Linked DNA regions of Homo sapiens: region 2 is linked to region 1. The links are contacts of gene promoters, found by promoter capture Hi-C in human tissues and cell types (Jung and others, 2019). All regions are on one chromosome and are shown on one strand. The core of a region is centred on a gene start or on the middle of the fragment in contact, and the rest is flanking DNA. Distances in the headings are between cores, read along the strand shown. Region 1 holds the start of SPTLC3 (serine palmitoyltransferase long chain base subunit 3). Region 2 overlaps SPTLC3 (serine palmitoyltransferase long chain base subunit 3).

Evidence for each region. Contacts are between HindIII fragments. The study calls those that stand out against the background at their distance.
Region 2: a contact is called between a fragment that was not itself captured here and the fragment with the promoter of SPTLC3 in region 1, in 1 of the 25 tissues and cell types used here (spleen).

What each region holds. Positions count from the first base shown.
Region 1 is chr20:13,004,681-13,011,481 of GRCh38, reverse strand. SPTLC3 (serine palmitoyltransferase long chain base subunit 3) reads right to left here and starts at 2,510. Exons shown (of 12, transcript NM_018327.4): 1 at 2,098-2,510. The coding sequence starts at 2,214. The HindIII fragment of the contact is 14,727 bases long and covers 1-6,801 here.
Region 2 is chr20:13,040,053-13,046,853 of GRCh38, reverse strand. All of the region lies in intron 1 of SPTLC3 (serine palmitoyltransferase long chain base subunit 3), which reads right to left. Among named protein-coding and RNA genes, the nearest start is that of SPTLC3, 34 kb to the right of the region's middle. The HindIII fragment of the contact is 7,484 bases long and covers 1-6,796 here.

The sequences.
Region 1 (6,801 bases), core at 1,261-3,760:
AAGAGATAACTGTGTTGCTGTGTGGTTGCAAATAAGTGGGAAGAGAAAGGGTGGGAGGATCATTGGAGGGGCTGGTAGGATCTTAGATGCTGCGGCAGAAGACGTTAGGCCAGGCAGAACGTGTTTGGGAGACCAGCAGCCTAGGATTCTGTAAGCCTTTGCAGACTGCTTCTATCCACAGGCAAGGCTTTTGGTCTAGGCCTAGTTTGTTAAAGGGTCCCAAGGATCAAAACTGGTGGCAAAGGAACTTGAGAGTAAAGACAACTTCGTTCCCATCATGGAGGGGACAATAAGCCCTCGTTTGCCCTATTACACTATGATCTCAGCCGGGTTTTTTTTGTTCGTTTGTTTTTCTGAAAAATATTTTTTAAGCCATAATTGAGGCTCTCAATGAAAGCCAATTGTAGCTTAGTGACACCTAAATATGTCTGAGACAAGAGGCTCTGGATGGCCCTTCAGGAAGGCAACAGCAGCCCTGATGTTTTCGACCGTTCTTAGGGAAGCCTCAGTGTCCAAGGATATTTACAGTCTTGCAGCTGCACTTCATAATGAACCTTTAGAATCCTGGGTTTTATCCTTACTTAGGAGTGGTTATAACTGTCTAAGTTTCTAATCTCATACCTCGAATGTGATTATAAAACCAAGATAAAATAAATAAAAGGGAGAAAAGTTAAGAAGGAATCTCTTCCCAGATGAGATCCCTCAGGGTCAGAATAATCACAAGGGTAAGTAGATGAATAGCTTGTGAGTTACAGGCATTCCAGAGGCAAGGATCGTCTTGAGTAGTGGCCTGAATTGATATTTAGTGATGCATAAGTGGTGGATATTACTGCAATTTCCTTCATACAACTGACAGGAGTTGAGCACCTTCTCTTCACATTGCTCCAGGTTTCAGATCCTCAGGTGGGACAGGCCAGTTCTGAGGTTTCTGATAGACACCTCCCAGCGTTGGACAGTGCCTTTTGTTAAGAGGGGAATGCTTTTGGGGACCACAGCCTGTTTACACACAACTCAGGCTCTAGAGCTCCTTTAGCCTCTTCCAATTGCACACACGAATGTAATTCACTGAGAGGAGGACTGGCCCCAGCCAGACCCACCTGTCCTGTGATCTTAGAACAATCTGCCTTTCCTGTGGGTGGATACTTGCTCTCTGGATGATCAAATGATGGAAGATTGCATGGGGCTCCCTGTGCCACTTCTCTTTCCAAACAGGAGGCTACCTGTTTGACTACTTGGGCTTGCTCCTCAGGCAGATGAGCTCACTTCTGCTGCTCAGAGCAGAGTGACACGGGATGTCCTGTGGGGAGTGGGGAACTGCCTTACATAAGGACCTCACAGACCCAGGCTCTCTCTTAAAACAAGCTGACAACTTTCCTCGAGTTCCTCCTGCCTAGGACACTCTGCAAACATCCCGGTGCAATAAGAGTGAAAAAAAAAAAAAGTGTCAAGTTGGAAAATACAAGTTTGTTTTAAAGATGCTGTTCTGTTTTCTGAGAGCAGTGTGTCACAATCAGCCCTGCTTTCTGAAGTGTTTTGGAAAAGAATGTCTGTGACGTCACATTTCAAAGAAATACTGTGGCCTCAAATCAAGTAGTGAGCTAAAACAATGCTCCACTACACACCAATAATAACTCGCCTTTCAAACAGTGATGCATTTCTCATGGACCTGGGAAGAATGCCATCTCCACCACATAATGTCAGCAAAATGTACTTTCACTTCCTCTTTTTCTTCTGAAGCATGACGGTTGTAGCAGGTCTCTTGGACAAAAATATATGCAAAGAGTTGGAACTTTCTTAATTCTTCCCTCCCCGCAAAATGCTTGAGACAAAAGTCTAGTAGGTACATTTGTATTTTAGGGAGCCTGAAGCTGTGTGAGTCTGTGTGTATCCTCTTTTGCATACAGAAGACATTTTCTCCTTAATCCACACCTAAACTTTTTGGTAGCCAAGCACTTTCTATTAACAGAGTCAACAGTCAAAACATGTAAAAACCCTTCATAAGATGAACTCTAAGTTAGGACAGCCTCAAATATCTTCACAGAGAAATATTGAAACGTTCAGGTAATTCAGAGAAGAGTAGGGGAGAGTGCCTCTTACCTGGGCTTCCTTCACTATTCCATTCTTTGTGCAGTTTCTGCTTTGTGAGCCATTGCTCTGTTTCTTGTGATTGTGAAGTTTCCCGTTGCAAACAGCACCACCTCCAGGGTTAGCCATGGGTGTGAAGTGACAGAGCCCGGGACAGGTTTTCCTTCAGAGGTCTCTGCAGGCTTTAGTTTTCAGTCTGCGAGGGGATGGGATAAAGCTCTTTGGGGCTGAGCCCTTAAAGGAATCTTACCAATCAGGCTTTTCCAGAAGAAGAGCAACAGCCTATCTTTTTGTCAGATCGTTGAAACTAAAACAAATGGTTACCTTTATACTTCTCAACTCCCGTCAAAATGTGAACTCCATGGCAACAAACCTGCTTCCGAAACTGTAAAGGAGATTGTCCATGCTGGCTCCTTCTGGGGACTGAGGGAACCTGGGGACTGAACAACCCAGTGGCAAAGTGTGAGGAGGCGGGCTGGGAGGTGGAGAGTCTTTTAAAGACACACACACACAGCACACTCACAGAGTCTTCTAAGTAACTGAGTTCTGAGTTAACCTCTTTTTCCCACCCCCTCTCTCCTGCATGTAATTGTGGTTTTTGGTTGTAAACCAAGCTCAAAAGTTAATATTTCTTTTTGCTATAAAATAGCATTCAGAGGTGGTTGCCAGGGCCTGGAGGGATGAGGCAAAGGGAAGTTATTGTTTAATGGGTACAGAGTTTGAGCTGGAGCAGATGAAAAAGGTATAGTGATGGATCAGTGCACAACAATGTGAATGTACTTAAACTAAACTGTGCACTTAAAAATGATTAAAATGGTAAGTTTCATGTGATGTATACATTTCCATAATTTACAAATGATTTGAAAAGATTTTTAAAAACCCAGTATTCAAAACCAACCTATGTTAAAATCAGTACTATAATAAGGGGGTACCAATCCATCAAGAATTCCAGTAAGACAGATGTTGAGGAGACAGAATATTTGATGACTGCGTTATCTTTATCTCGTGACCTTGGGGGAGGTATTTACCCACTTTATGCCTCAGTTTTTCCATCTATAAAATATCTGCTGAGGTAGAACAAAAATCATGCTGTAGCTTGGGTTTGTTACTGACGCAGGTGTGAGGTGGTTGATGACTGCAGGGTCCCAGTCCTGAAACACATCTGGTTTACTCACTAACTCTTATTCTCTCAATGCATGAATCTTCAAGGCTTTGTTTCTTCCTACCATCATCAAATGGCATGGTGACATGATTTGCTGGAGAGTCATTACAACCTGTTGAGTCTTCCCAAGTCCACCCTTGTGGTTTTCCTGAGTCGAGACTTCTTTAGCATCAGACTCTAAGAAAAGAAACCAATTTATTGGGGCAGTAGACAAAAACAAACAATCAAACACACACACACAAACAAAAAGAAAGAAATGGCCCCTGTTTCCAGAGCCTCATGTCCTGTAACTCAGCTCCCTTGGACAGGGTTCAGTTCTACTCCAGATTAATGTAGCTTTTGGAGGTGGACATGCTAACGCTTCTCCTAACTATGACTTGCATATGAGGGTACCTGCCTTTACCATCCCAAGGAATGCTGGAGGAATAAGATAAGGCCTGAGGCCAAGGTGAAAGACGGAGTTAATACCAAGTGTGTTCAGCCCAGTTTGTGTCTCAAGTTCAAAAATTTTATCGCATTTCTCTCAACCTTTATCATCAAAGTAGAAGTAGATTTTCACTGGTCTCTCCCTTCCATGGCTGTTTCACTGAGATTTGGGGGCTAAACTCTTGTAGGTTTATTTTCTTCTAAGATTTAGGAAATGGAGAGATGAAGAGGTAGAGGGGAGCACTATTGTTGGCCCAACTGCCTCACGTTACTTAGAAAGACAAGTTGAAGAGAGGGCGTTATTTTCCCTGAGCTCTATTGCTCAGTGCAAAGCATTTTTTTAATAAAGATTTTGAAATAAAACTTTTTTAACATTAGATGTCTCTTTTCTTTCTTCTTTTCTTCTTCTCCATCTCTTTCCTCTTTTCACATTTGTCCTTTTCCCTTTCCTCCCCCACCCTCCTCTTCTTTTTCTTCTTCTTTTTCAAATTTTCTTTTTACAAGGGACAAAAGGTATATATAAAATAAATCTTAAAACACAGCTGAATTCTGCTTTCTCCGTTTCCTTCCCCTAATTGCAATTGCTAAGGTTAGGTAATCACACATAGATTTCTGAGAAATATCTACTACGTGCTCTCACTCTTGAAACTTTTCTATTTTACTTACCGTATTGGAATGTGTGCATTGTTGTGTGTACAAAATTATATTAACACACCAACCATTTGGCATCAGGCACTGCTGGTATGTATAGTCAGTGGTGACTCATTGCTTCATACCATCTCCAGTTAAAATAAGCGAAGAGTTCTGTTGAAGTCAGTGGTAGGTTTAGGTTTAAGGTTTGGAGCAATACTAAAACACAGACTAAATATTGAGCAAGATTTGGCATCTCTGAACAACTAAATACATTTTGGATCAACTAGTAACCTCAGAAAATGTTTGAATAAGTACTCTGTATTTGCTGAGTCCTTGGTTCTCACAAGGAATAAAACATACACAGTCTCCACCTTCACAGAACTAAGACTCAGCAGTACCCACATGCCTTCTACTTAGGATATCTTACTATTAAAGGTAGAAATAAATCTTCCCACTAGTACATTAAAGGCAAAGATGATAAAATTAGCAATGGCCTTGTGGTGTTCTCCAAAGTAATGGTTTTGCCCAGATGCCAGATTCTCAGCTCCTCTCTTAATGAAGCAGCCAAAAAGGGAGATAACAGAATGAGGATAGGCAAGAAAGGGAAGGACAGAGGCTTGGCAATGTGTTGTGAAAACGCTCTTGGAACAACTTGGGGATAGAGAGTTGGCAAAAATGGGAGGATATGAGCAGAATGAACTGTCAGAATTGTACAGTGTACAGAAATCTGTTCATTCTCAGTGACTCAAGTTTTACCCATGTAATGGAGAGTGATGCTCATGCAAAACTAAATTTTCAACAGGTTAAGTGACTTTTCCAAAGCCACAGAATAATATGTGGTAGAAGTGGGTCATGAACTCAAGAATGTCTGGGTCTAAGTGAGTGCCGTTTTCCTTACACCATGACACCTCTCCTTCAGCTGTTGACTTGAGAACCATCAACCACCAAGAAAAGAAATAACAGAATCTGTTATTATTTGGGAGATTTCATTGGATTGGCCAAATAATGAATAAAAATGCTTTATTTGCTTTTTGATGTTTAAAAATTTGCAATATATTAAATTTTTTTACAAATGACTAATGACATGTCAATATCTACTAATAAGTCTACGTGGAAGTACTTAAATTTCCCGAAGAGTTCAATCTGGAAAAATTCTCATCGTAGAGACCATTCATTTCCATAGATTTCCCCATGAATAGGTTGTAAACGTGATGACCTAAGAAGGCCAGCCGCATGTGAGTTAATATTAAATTTGAACTGACCAATAAGTCATGAAAATTATCTGAGAAAACCCAGAAAGTGATCATGTCAATTTATCTGATATCAGGTGGAAATTATAACTCTTAATCAAGATCAAGTTAATTTTAGTTTTCACACTTTTGGGTTTTGCACACTGTTGTGATTGGAAAATCCATGCATAGCACATATTTAACATCACATATCTTTGCCCTGAAATAGATCATACTGACACAGTCAGTCCCTCATTCATATCCTTTTGACTTAGCTTGGAGGTCCCTGATACACGGTGTCAGCTGTTTTCTGTGTTTCTATGCCCAAGCAGGTTCTCTGACCATGGGGTATTCTCTGCTTCTGCAGTGTGGGCCAGGTGTGCTGGGAAATTCACATCCTTGAGAGCAACTCTCAGCCAACAAGGGACAGAAGTTGGTGCATAAACACCCCATGTTATTTTCTTCTTTATGGGACAATTCTGAGGCATGTTCACAGCCTCTGGAGAGATCCCAATGGGACTGTGGCTCTGTTGCCCTCAGTAGTAACCCTCTTATAAAAACACCCATTATTAAGTTTTCCTCCCTTCCTGGTTTTACTTATCCATGCTTCCTGAAAATACCCCCCAATAAACTACTTGCACCTAAATCCTTGTCTCAGAGTCTGTTTGTGGGAACCCAAATTAGGGCAACCAAGTCCATATTAGCCCATCAGATCTTATTGATCAGAGATCAAATTGGATCTTTTGAATGATCAATATTAGACTGTTCTGAAGATTGAGAGAGATATCATGTAGAAAAACTTAATACATTCATTTGGGTAAAACCTCATAAATTCTAGAGACAGACAGAAAATGTGTACTCTTGTGTCTCCCATAGGGAAGATTTGTGGAATTTATATAAGAAGAGGGTGTCTACAATTTAGTTGGGGAAGAAAAGTCATTAACTTTGAGTTATAATATCATAAAAACACCACATATTTTGAATGAGAAACAGGCTCTAGAAAGTCTTTTAGAATGTGCTTTATCTGCAGAAAAATTAAAACTAGCTTATTCTTTAGTTAATGCTTTGATGCAAAGAACACTTTTATGTTTCTAGCTAGCATGGGATGATAAACGGAAATTAAATGCTTAGCATTCTTATTCATTTTCTATTGCTACTGTAAGAAATTATCACAGACTTAGTGGCTGAAACAACACAAATGTATCATATTAGAGTTCTGCAGATCAGGAGTCTGACGTGGGTCTCACTAGGCTAAAATCAAGGTGT
Region 2 (6,801 bases), core at 1,805-4,304, 35 kb before region 1:
GGCATTTGTTGCATGCCTTCCCTGAGCAAGCAACATGTTCAGCACTGGGGATTCAAAGATGAACAAGACAGACCCCATTCCTACTCCTCCCTCTAACTATGTCCTTACCCCAGTCATGTAGGTCTGATGGATGGCTGATCTTGCTATGCTATTTTAGTACAAACCTTTGGCTCCTTTCCTTGGCTCTGTTCTGCACTTGAACTTTAGACTACATCGATCTCCACAATTCCAGGTGACTTCCTGGCCCAGTTAAGACCCACCTCCCACATCCTTCTGCATCACAGGGACACAAAATTGGCTTCCTTGCTGGATTTGTCCAGACTCTAGCAAAAGGGACTCAGAGTCTCATGAAGGAAGACATGTTGGAACTTCTACTGATTAGATATGAAGTCAAGGAAGAGGAAAAAGAAAACTATCTGCAAGGAGCAGTATAGTATTGTTGATAAGAAGAAAGAAGGACTTGGAAGGAGGGCTGCTTTTTGGAGAGAAGACATGAGTCTGTACAGAACATGCTAATTTGGGGGTGGTGATTGCCTGCATAAATTCCCAGAGCACTGAGGAATGTAGGAGAAAAGGAAGACCCTGACTGAGTCAATTACTACGGGCCACAGTTTAAGTCATGGTTGAAGGTGAATGCGATAAGGTACAAATCATAAAGAGGGAAGAGCAGTAGGCTTGGGACAGAATTTGTGGATACAGTGCTTTTTCCGGTACCACAGAAGAAAAAGGGTGAATAAAGGGAACCCAGTGTGGGTGACCTCAGAACCTTAATTTAACCTGCTTGCAAATTAACCCCTTTGGCTGACTTAGAGAATGGCTAAGTTATGTGGGTGTACATAAAGACAGAAAATGTGAGGACATTCAAGTCCAACCCATGGCAATCAGCAGGTTTTCTCTTCTTCCTTTCCTGGCCCCATCTTCATTTCTGAGCTTCACCTGTAACCAAATCAAGTGGTGCTTTTCTCTTGAAATCCATAGGCAGTTTCTGCTTGAATTGGCTCTGAGGCAACCCTGCACTGTACATCACAGATGGTCTACCTAGATGCAAATAAAACCCTCAGTTGGTTGCACAGACTGGGCCTATATGTAACTATTTACTTGCCCCTGTGACTTGTTCTGGAAGCAAGTAATAACACAAAGGAGAAAATTTCAAAAATGTCCATCAGCCCAAACCAGGATCTATTTTCCTCTCATATAAATAGATACATTTTAAATTTAATGTCACTTAATTAATTTTATTTGGCAGAGGAAAAATGAGATATCTTCACAGAGAAAAAAGCTATCTGGAAATGTATTGGTCTCCTTAAGAGATAGCTAGTGACTCACTTACTATATTCTTTTACTTATAATTGAAGTCAGTCACACCTCCCAGGAGGAATTCCTCAATCTGTTGTTGGATAGTTATTTTGAAATATAAAATTTCATCCTATCAAAGTAAATGAAGCATAAAATCTTGCTTAATAAGTTTGCATTTATTAAGCACTTGTTATTACTGCAGATAAGCATTGTTATTTGTAATACACTTTGGCTTGTTCTACCTTTTCTTTCGCAGCCTTAAAAATAAACAGACCCTGAGCCACATTGCCTACAGTATCTAGTCGTTTGGGATGATGTGACATCCTGGGGTTTGTTTACTTCCTGCGCTTCTGTCATATCTGGAAATAAACTGGGTGCTGGAATATGCAGGGAGCCCTTTACAGACAATTACTCTTCTGTTCAATAGGTAGCTCTTTTACTGGCTGTCCTAGGCTAACATTAGAGGAGATATGAAATCAATAAATACAGTATGTTTTCCCCAGAATTGATAGTGCAGTAGGGTGTGTGTGTGTGTGTGTGTGTGTGTGTGTGTGTGTGTGTGGTGGGGACACAAATGACCATAATGTAGAGCAAAATGTGAATGTCAAAGGATGATGCAAATGAAGGGACCACATCACACTGGGTGATCAGGAGTGATTCTTGAGGAGGTTGAACTGGAGTCTGGTGTTGCTGGGTTGTCGAGCATAACAATGAAGATGATTTGCTCAGGGGTCAGACTTTCCTTTGCTGCCTGTGTGACCTTGTGAAAGTCACTTAATTTTTCGAGGCCTCAAATGTCTCCAGTGCTAAGTGGGGCTAGTAAAGGTCACTTTTGAAAATTAAGTGAGATAGTATATGCAGGTTACCTGCTACAATACAAAAACTCATTAAATGTTACGATTTTTGTTAAATATTCTGAATAGAGATGATAGATGAAAACTATTAGAATGGATAATGCTGCTTTTAGAGACATATTTGAGAAAAAAGAGAAAGACAATATTTTCTCTCGGTCATATATATTGACCAAGGATATATATGGCTTCCTTGCTGGATTTGTCCAGACTCTAGCAAAAGGGACTGAGAGTCTCACGAAGAAAGACAGGAGACCAAGGATATACATTGACCTAGGATATATTGATCAAGAATATAATGTATCAGCTGGGCGCTGTGGCTCATGCCTGTAATCCCAGCACTTTGGGAGGCCGAGGTGGGTGGATCACCTGAGGTCAGGAGTTCAAGACCAGCCTGGCCAACATGGTGAAACTCTGTCTCTACTAAAAAATACAAAAATTAGCCAGGTGTGGTGGCAGGCACCTGTAATCCCAGCTACTCAGGAGGCTGAGGCAGGGGGAATTGCTTGAACCCAGGAGGCAGAGGTTGAAGTGAGCCAAGATTGCATCACTGCACTCCAGTCTGGGTGACAGAGCAAGACTCCATCTCAAAAAAAAAAAAAGAAAAAAAAGAAACAAGACAAAAGAATATAATGTATCAATACCTAGGGAGAAGAGGGAGAATGAGGGTCCTCTAAGGAGACAGCAAGTGGGAGAGGGAGGAAGAGGTGAGGGACTGAAGAGTGACACTAAGTTGAGATATAGAAGTTCAACAAGACCATTGTATATGGGGACTCTCACAAGAAAACTTGAGTAAGTAATCTTATCAACCTGTTATCCCTGCAATTTTATCAGACTGCAGGGACTTAAGGAGAGAGAGAATGTGAAGGCAATGGGACAGGGAGCTGAGATGACTTATTAAAGAAGTATAGTGGTAGGGAAGAGGACAGAGAGAAGGTGGTGACTTCGGTTACTAATAGTGAGGGGAGTTGCTTATTTTGCAATAAAGACTGAGTGTATATAGGAGCTTAGAAAAATATTTAATAGATTAAGCATAATTGTAGATAAAGGTAAGAGACAGTATAATTCCTGGAACACGACCCCTTGAGGGAGACAGGATGAAGAGCACATGTGACTGTCCTGGCCACAGGGACGCAGACTATCTCAGTAGCACTTTGAAAAATGTGTGATGCAGTCACTTCTTGTGCTCTAGCTTTTTAGGGTATGATACAAAAGGATGAGCAAATCTAAAACCAACTTAATGCTGCCAATTCACCATCCATTCACAAACAGACTTTTGTTTTCAGAGTGAGGCAGCCCATGCAACATGACACATTCCATTACACTGCTAGGTTAGTCCTTGAAAAGAAAAGTCAGGGTGAGAATGAGGAGGAAGAGGAGGCTTTCAGGCCTTAGTTGATCTACAAGGGCAGGAAGGTTGGGGATAAGATTGGCTCAGGGAGGATGAAATGGCAAAGGAAATCTAGAGCACTGGAGCTAACGAGAGGGCCATGTTCCTTTCTGAAATGGAACGTATTTGGGGTTTTCCACATCATGATCAAGATTGGCATAGATCCTTCTCTGAGGGAGAACACAAACTTCCAAGGATACTGGTGTTTAAGAATAAGTCTCTGCCTACATTGTAGCAGTTAGGTTTTGCGTAGGGAAACAGAACCACTGTGAGTGTTATAGAATAAGAGATTTACTTTAAACATTATATGGTGTTCAAACATAGGAGCCTGGTTAAAAATCTATGGAAGGTAGACTATTTCCCTGCTGGTGGCATAAAGAGCCTCAGAGATCATCTTCACAGTAGAAATAAAGCATAACTGGTAAAAATTATAAAAATATAACTTTTTAAAGTATTTGGACATTGTCTTAAGGGCATATAACAAATGAAGAAATATTTATTGAAGGAAATACACTAAATATCAAAAAAGAACACTGAGAGTCTGTGGCATTGAGCCATGACCTATTCTCTCCCTTTGTCTCCCAGTTCAGCAAGTAGAAACATTCTACTTTGAGCAGGTGGCCAAGATGAGGCTTCCTGTCCCCTGCTTCAGGCAAGGGTTATGGTATTTCTTTGAGAGGGGCAAGCTACCATCATTTCTTATCACTCTCAGTTCTGTTTTGCAGAGGCTAAATTCTGTGCAAGTGTGGCTGAGAGGTTGAGGGTTTACTTCCTCTAATGAACACCCACTGGTAGGGTAGAGACTCTATATCAGACATGGCATGCTGAGAATACTGGGGCCCCAATTACCCTTACTCCAGCACACTAGCAGGATAGAGGTTCCATGGTGGAAGAGGAAAGCCAAGAAAACCAGAAGGTATTGCCCCACCTAGAGCTACTATCCTTTCCCTAGCTCTGAAGCAGTGATTCATTGGCTTTGCCCAGTGGGAGAGAGAGCTCCAGAGCATTCCCCAAGATAACTTATTTTATTTGGCACAAAGAGTAGGGAAGTTCAAGATTAAAGGGTGCTCTGGAAAACAGTGGAGATTCTGGTGGCAAGCACTTTAGAAGAGACTGGTAACTCGGTAAAAGCAACAAGCTAATCTTCATGTAGGTAGTTCAGCCAGAGAGAATCAGGGAAATTGATAGCTATGAAGAGCCCTCTTAAGATCAGAATAAACCTCAAAGGCTAAACATACCAAGGATCATGAATTTAATTGGATTAGATTGTGAAGCAATTTATGCCGCAGGGCACTGTCAAAACCAATAGAGCAATCCGGCAGCAAGTAGTGGAGTGGAGACTCACAGTTGGGAGTGATACCAACAGAGGAAGATAGCTTTACAGAATGATTTGGGAAGGCACAGTCATATAGAAGCTTCCTAAAACCACTGTCACTTCAATGACATGCTGAAGTCTGCACTCTCTAAGTGGCAACCTTAGAGGTTTTACACTGTGAGGTAAATATACTTTATGAAAATAGCTCATCTAAGTCACTAAAAAAATAAGCAAACACAACAAAGACAATCCTCTAGTGGGGGCGGGGGAGGGCAGTGATTAGTATTCAGAGTTGTACAATTTATTTAAAATGTTCAGTTTTAAGCCAAAAATATGAGTCATGTAAAGAAACAGAAAAATGTGATCTACATAAGAACAACAGATATTGCTTATGAGAAGGACCAAGATGTTGGACTTAGTAAATACAGCCACGTGGCTATTACAAATATATATAAAGAACTAAAGGAAACCATGTTAAAGGAGTAAAAGAAGGTATGATGGCAATGTCTTATCAAATAGAAAATATTTATAAAGAATAGAAATTACAATAAAAAGAACCAAGTGGGAATTCTGAAATCGAAAAGTGTAATAACAGAAACAAAAACTTACTAGAGGGGCTCAATAGCAGATTTAAACTGGAAGACCAAAAAATTAGAAAACTTTAAGATAGAGAAGGGGAATTTGTGCAATACAAAATACAAACAAACAAAAAAACCAGAGGAAAAAAATAAAGACAAATGAACAAGGCCTCTGAAACATGTGGGATACCGTTGAGTACACCAACATATACACAATATGAGTGTTAGAAAGAGAGGAGAGAAAAAGGAACAGAACAAACATTTCAATAAATATTGGCTGAAAACTCCCTAAATTTGATGAAAAACATTAATCATACCTATGGAAGCTTAATGATATCCATTTGAATAAAGGCAAAGAGATCTGTTATCAGACATATTATAGTAAAAATGTTAAGAGACAAAGAGAAAATCTTAAAAGCAGCAAGAGCCAAACAATTGATCACATAAAAATGAACCCCAATAAGGTGAACAGCTTTCTTTGGAGTAGAAAAAAATGGAAGCCAAAAGGCAGTGGGATGACATATTCAAAATGCACAAATATTTTAAGAAGTCAACCAATAATCTTATGTTGGCAAAACTAGCCTTCAAAAATGAAGGCAAAATAAAGACACTTCAGGATAAACAAAAACTGAAAGAATCTGTTAATAGCAGACCCACCTTTCAAGAAGTACTAAAGGGAGGTCTTCAGACTGAAAGCAAGTGACTTCAGACAATGATTCAAATCCAACCAAAAAAAAAAAAGGGGGCACAGGCAAAGGTGATTATGAAATTATTAAAGTGGCTCATGCCTGTAATCCTAACACTTTGGGAGGCCAAGGCAGGTGGATCACGAGGTTAGGAGATCGAGACCATCCTGGCCAACATGGTGAAACCCTGTCTCTACTAAAATACAAAAATATTAGCCAGGTGTGGTGGCTTGCGCCTATGGTCCCAGCTACTTGGGAGGCTGAGGCAGGGGAGTTGCTTGAACCCAGGAGGTGGAGGTTGCAGTGAGCCGAGATTGCGCCACTGCACTCCAGCCTGGAGACACAGCAAGACTCCGTCAAAAAAAAAAAAGTATAAATACACGTTTCTTCCCTTCCCTTTACTACTATTAAATAATTTTAAAAGAAATTGTATAAAACAATATGTATAAATTCATTGTTGAACTTACATATATAGACATATATTATGCAATAACAGCACAAAGAAATTGGATGTGAGCAAAACTATATTGAATTAAGGAAATTATACAACATGGCAATTAGAGTCCACAGCAACTAATGAATAAAACCAGAAATGTTAAATAAGAAGATAAATAAGAAAGTTGATGTAACAAACTCTTTCTTTCTCAATATGTATACATACACACACACACACACACACACACAC